2 separate regions of the Homo sapiens genome follow, and region 1 is linked to region 2. Evidence: promoter capture Hi-C in human tissues and cell types (Jung and others, 2019). All regions are on one chromosome and are shown on one strand. The core of a region is centred on a gene start or on the middle of the fragment in contact, and the rest is flanking DNA. Distances in the headings are between cores, read along the strand shown. Region 1 overlaps LINC00607 (long intergenic non-protein coding RNA 607). Region 2 holds the start of FN1 (fibronectin 1).

What was found. Contacts are between HindIII fragments. The study calls those that stand out against the background at their distance.
Region 1: a contact is called between a fragment that was not itself captured here and the fragment with the promoter of FN1 in region 2, in 1 of the 25 tissues and cell types used here (IMR-90 fibroblasts).

Annotation. Positions count from the first base shown.
Region 1 is chr2:215,706,316-215,709,413 of GRCh38, reverse strand. All of the region lies in intron 5 of LINC00607 (long intergenic non-protein coding RNA 607), which reads left to right. All of the region lies in intron 7 of LOC102724861 (a long non-coding RNA gene), which reads right to left. Among named protein-coding and RNA genes, the nearest start is that of LINC01614, 10 kb to the left of the region's middle. The HindIII fragment of the contact is 7,643 bases long and covers 1-3,098 here.
Region 2 is chr2:215,434,639-215,437,487 of GRCh38, reverse strand. It overlaps FN1 (fibronectin 1), which reads left to right and starts at 1,420. Exons shown (of 46, transcript NM_212482.4): 1 at 1,420-1,833; 2 at 2,664-2,792. The coding sequence starts at 1,686. FN1-DT (FN1 divergent transcript) reads right to left here and starts at 1,797. Exons shown (of 2, transcript NR_187198.1): 1 at 1,179-1,797; 2 at 1-569. RefSeq lists silencers at 1,237-1,326, 1,337-1,396. The HindIII fragment of the contact is 6,677 bases long and covers 1-2,849 here.

The sequences.
Region 1 (3,098 bases), core at 567-3,066, 270 kb before region 2:
TTCAGAGAGGAGAGAAACGAGTACAAAAGTCCAAATGGAAGGGTCAGAACAGAGTAAGCAGTAGAGAGAAGGAAAGGAGGGAAAGGAGATCAGAAACATAACCCATTGTCCAACTCAGGTATTGATTCAACATGCACTTACTAAGAGATGATTATGCTAGTTGCTGTATACTGTGCAAAGTACCTGAAAATTAGATTATGAGGACTTGGCGTGGAGTAGAAGTTAAAATGAGAAGCTGAAGATGATTAGTTTCGAGTCTCAAAGTATCAAAAGGAGGTGACAACATTATCCAGGAGTGGAACATAAGAAAAATAAGAAACCTGAAAAATAATATTTACACACCTTCATTCTACTATGGCTTTTTTGTATACAATGCCTTAATTTTTTTTTTTTTTTAAATCATGTTCCTCTCTTCACCAAAAAAAAAAAAAAAGAAAGAAAAAAAATGGGGCCAGGGAAGATTCCCTATTGTTTACTTTCGATTTGGCCTTGAAGACCCCATGTTCTGGCTCCAACCTACTTTTCCCATTCTACCTATTTTTCTCTACTGCCCTACAAGAATCCTTTATTCCAGCCAGGCAAATCTATTTATCCTTTCCTGACACAAACATCATGCTTTTGTATATAGTGATTCTTATCTCTACCTAAAAGTAATCCACCCTGAAATCCTACATTAATGTCCTATTTTCTCCCTTAATATTTTGGAGAACCTGTTATGGTCTGAATATTGGTTCAAAATTTATATGTTGAAACCTAATTTCCAGTGCAACAGTATTAAAGAGATGGAGTCTTTAGGAGGCGATTAGGTCATGAGCTCAAAAATGGGATGAGTGCACTTACCAAAGAAACTCCGTGGCACTTGTTCACCCTTTCTGTCGTGTGAGGTCCCAGCAAGAAGGAGCCATCTATGAAGTAGATAATGAGTCCTCACTAGACACCAAATCTACTAGTGCCTTGATTTTAGACTTCCCAGCCTTCAGAACTGTGGGTAATAAATTTCTGTTTGTTTATTTATTTATTTATAGACAGGGTCTTGCTCTGTCACCTAGGCTGGTGTGCAATGGCACAATCACAGCTCACTGCAGCCTCAAACTCCTGGGCTCAAGTGATCCTCCCGCCTTGGTCTCCCAAAGTGTTTGGATTGCAGGTGTGAGCCACCGTGTCAGGCCAAATTTATGTTCTTTGGGTTTGGAGTCTGTCTCAGTCTGGTCCTGCTACTATAATAAAATATTTGAGAACAGGAACAGACTAAAACAGACCCTAAAGCCTACGCCTTGCCTGACCATTTCAACCTCAAAGATGGCTCTCTCCTTTATAGGTGCCTTATTTCCTCCAATGGCCCTAAGAGTGTCTTATGGAAAGATCATGCCTGCTTAATATGTCTGTGGTTCTCAGGATCCCTAGCGCAGTACCGAATGTTCCGTAGTCCCTCAAGTGTTCATCAGTTTCCTAACTGGGGTGAGTTTGTAAGACTTTACATGCTCCACCATGTTGCAGCAGAGACAGCCGGGATGAAGTTCCCCTTCCTTTTGGAGCTTGGCTGTTCAGATTCCTTTGAATGCAGTGATGCTTTATGGGTGCATATAGCTCTGACTTTGCAAATCACCTCCAGAAACAGCACTGTGTTTATCAGCAATCACGCAACACACGTTCCTCAGATAAGGACATAGCTTACTTCCCGCTTTAGTGTTTAAAGATACAGTTCATTGGTTGCTGGTATTATCTTCTAAAAGAAAGAGAATTAAGTACTTTTCTCCAAACACTCTGGACAAACTTGAGAATATATGAATTTCGCATGTTTCCTGTCCTTCAGCCCAATATTCTAAATGTGATATCTGCTAATAAAAGTATTCAATGTTTACAAAGAAAAACGGTGTCTTAGATTACCTCAAACAGTGAATAATCGTGCTTATACAATTATTCATTGTTTTTGAGAAAACATTGAGATTTGAGAAAAACATGTCCTTCTAAACATAAGTTTCAAAATTAATTGCAACTGAGCAGAAAACCCACAGTAACTTGAACTTTTAATTTTAAATGTTGTAATTGGGTGCCTAGTGCTGAGAAGAAAATTGGTTTGTGGCTTTCAGGGAAATCACAGAGTATATTACATATTTAAATTTTTTAAGCCCCAAGAAGACTGTTTTTATAAAAACAGATAATGTATTGATTTGTGTTTAGTTGTTAAAATGAAATAGAATTGAATAAATCTCAGATAGCTTGAATACCTTGAAATAGTCAAGATATTTACGTATATTATATTTATAACTACGTTTTTATGTATAAATGCTTTACGTAAAGGTGTGTGTGTGTGTGTGTGTGTGTGTGTAAATGTGTTGATGTGTATTTATTATCTGATTTGAACATATTATATACCAAATAGCTGCATGGCATCAGGGATGCACAAATTATGTATTCATAAACCACATGTCAGAATTGCCTTAGACATAGACAAGATTGAACTGAACTTCATTTTGCTATTTGTGGGACATCCAATGCCTTTGGGGGTGACAAACATCAAATTGAAGATGGGGGTTATATCTAGAGTGGGGTGGGAGGGAAACAATATTGAAGAAACACAGGGAGCTTCAAATATATTGATAATGTGTTTCTTAGGCTGGCTGGTGTGTGTACCTGGAAATTTATTGTATTTATCCTTTTATTTTTTTGCATGACTTAAATGCTTTTTAATAAAACTTTTAAATGCCCAATTCCTTCTTCAGAATTTTGTGAATTCATAGGTGTCTTATGCTTTTGTGCTTACCTCTGATTCCAGCATTCTGCTTCTACTGCATGTGTGCTGTGTGAGAAAACTTTCCACCATGCTGATTGGGTTGTCTTCTCTCCACAGTGGCTCAGTGGAGACATGAAATTGAAATTCAGCACTTTTCCTTGGTTTAAACACAGGCTGATCCCACAAATGCAGTAGTATTAAAGTTTGCAGATATAGAAGCATTTATATCTTAAAAATGAAAGCAACTTAAAATTTGCTGCTGCCGCTCAGAAAGAGCTTCTGGCCTTTCTACCTCTAGGGATGTTATCACCAGCACTCCTGGCCTAGGCAGCATCCTGAACTTTCCCATCCTGTGTTGGCTCTG
Region 2 (2,849 bases), core at 171-2,670:
ACTCCTAACACAAGGAGAAGGCAAAGCATTCAGTTCGGGTCTCTCTGGATCTACTGTGGAAGTGGTGGACTCCTCCTTCTGAAGATCTTTAAAAGCAATTGTGCCTGTGTTTATCTGACAAAAAGGACTGATGTGATGTGTTGCTAAATGAGAGACTTTTCAGATTCCCTTTCCACTCTGAGTTTAGAGTTCAAGGCGGGGGAATCTTAAAGGAGAACTTTCCACACTCTTGGAGTAAATAACAATTGAAATATAAAAAATCTGGCGGCGGGGGATGGAGGGGGCATTCTGTAATGGAACTTGTCAGCAAAAAGAAAATGGCAAATAAATGTGAGAAAGGGGCCGAAGGAGGGCAAGACAGTACATAGGGTGCCCCCCACCCACCCGGCTTTTAATGATTCAAGCAAAAAAATCTCTGCTTTGTGTGTAACTGGCACGGTGAACGTGGGAAAGGACACGAAGACCTTTCTCTCCCCACAGCTGGTCCAACTTTCCAATTTTCAGGTTGTTCACAGTGATTTCACTTTCAGTGGAAACGGGCGTCCCATCCCCAGGAAAGGAAGGCTTTCCTGCATGTGTAAAAAAGTAAACTGTTACTTTGTCCTTGCAAAAGAAAACTTCATTCTCTGAACTTCCCCGGGATCTGCAAAGCGCCCCGCGGAACTCCCGGTACTTAGTAGAAGCTCATTAAAGGTCTCTGTTCCCCTTTGCTCCCCGTTCGCCCGCTGGCCCTTTCTCAGAGCCAGACAGGCACAGCGCTGAGAAGGGAAGAAGTCCGAACAGGGAGCTGTGAAGACAAAATAAGGGAGTCCCGAGTCAGTACCCTTTAGTCCAAAGAAAGGGAGCGGGATGGGGGGAAAGGCAGCCCCGCCCTGGGACTGAAAAGTCTGGATTCTTAACAGCTGCAAGGTCGTGGATATTTTATGGGTTTTCTTCCTCACAAAATACACTCCTATAAGCAGAGATTCCCCCCCTCCACCCCGAAGAGAGGTGACGCAATGTCCTCAAACACTACCACCACCCCCAATAAAAAAGAAAAGGGAAGGGGGAGCGTCTTGCAACCCCTTCGCTTCACACAAGTCCAGCCACTCCCTTTCCTCCCAGCCGCTTCCCATCCCTTCCCCCATCCCCTAAAAAGTTTGATGACCGCAAAGGAAACCGAAAAAAAGTTGTCTTGCCCCAGTCCTGGCGGGCCATCAGCATCTCTTTTGTTCGCTGCGAACCCACAGTCCCCCGTGACGTCACCCGGAGCCCGGGCCAATCGGCGCGCGGTCGGCTGCGGCGGCCGGCGGGCGGGCGGGCGGGTGGGGTGGGGCGGGGCGGGGACAGCCCGGCGGGTCTCTCCTCCCCCGCGCCCCGGGCCTCCAGAGGGGCGGGAGGGGACCGTCCCATATAAGCCCCGGCTCCCGGCGCTCGGACGCCCGCGCCGGCTGTGCTGCACAGGGGGAGGAGAGGGAACCCCAGGCGCGAGCGGGAAGAGGGGACCTGCAGCCACAACTTCTCTGGTCCTCTGCATCCCTTCTGTCCCTCCACCCGTCCCCTTCCCCACCCTCTGGCCCCCACCTTCTTGGAGGCGACAACCCCCGGGAGGCATTAGAAGGGATTTTTCCCGCAGGTTGCGAAGGGAAGCAAACTTGGTGGCAACTTGCCTCCCGGTGCGGGCGTCTCTCCCCCACCGTCTCAACATGCTTAGGGGTCCGGGGCCCGGGCTGCTGCTGCTGGCCGTCCAGTGCCTGGGGACAGCGGTGCCCTCCACGGGAGCCTCGAAGAGCAAGAGGCAGGCTCAGCAAATGGTTCAGCCCCAGTCCCCGGTGGCTGTCAGTCAAAGCAAGCGTGAGTACTGACCGCGGGCTGAAACAGGCTGCCTCAGGGATGGGACCCTAAAGCCGACCAAAGTTGGGGCTGAAGTTTTGTGCGCGCGCGTGTGTGCGAGTGTGTGCGCGCTTTACTGAGAGAAACCAGCTGTGCACACAAAAGGACCGAGTTTTGAGCACGCTGGTTCTGAGGGCCTGGGATGATAAGACCGTGCATTGGAGGACGAGGACTCTGCGACTTTCCCGTGTTCTAATAAATTCTGCACGTTCAGATTGTCCTTCTAGGAATTAACCAAAACTTGCCTTTAAAGAGAAAAATGATGCATGTCTATAAATTTTCCGTCTGGGATTAGTGTGGTCCTTACTGCTACTTATTTCCTTCTGTTAAATAATTGGTCAAATATTTTCAACATGGGGGTGGAAAGGGGGTATTGAAATAGCTGTCTTGTTTCTAACTAACTTGGAAGAGATGTAATTGGTTCAGACCTCTTTAGGGCCGCTCAGGATACTTCACCAAGAACAGAGGTTGGAATTCTTTCCGTTTTTCAAAGACACACCCTCCTTTTGCTTTGAGAAAGCTGCTTAAAGTTGTCCTTTTTGACTATTACTCCAAAAGAATATTTAAGTTCCTTGCATGTTTTAAAAATGTGACTTCAATTGTCTGCCTTCCAAAATGTTTCCAACTTTTTTATGTAGACCCCTGGCCAGATGGAAATGACATCATTGTATATAACTTTTAGCAAAGTTAAAAGGAAAAAAATATGTACGTCAATATTCACATGAAGAAAATTCCATAATTTTGGGAAAAGGAGAAATGCAAATGTAACGTTTTCCTTCAATTATTTGCAGCCGGTTGTTATGACAATGGAAAACACTATCAGATAAATCAACAGTGGGAGCGGACCTACCTAGGCAATGCGTTGGTTTGTACTTGTTATGGAGGAAGCCGAGGTTTTAACTGCGAGAGTAAACCTGAAGGTAAGTGACAACAAGCCCCATAGTTAGTATCTTTTAATACATGAAGTGGTAATTGTT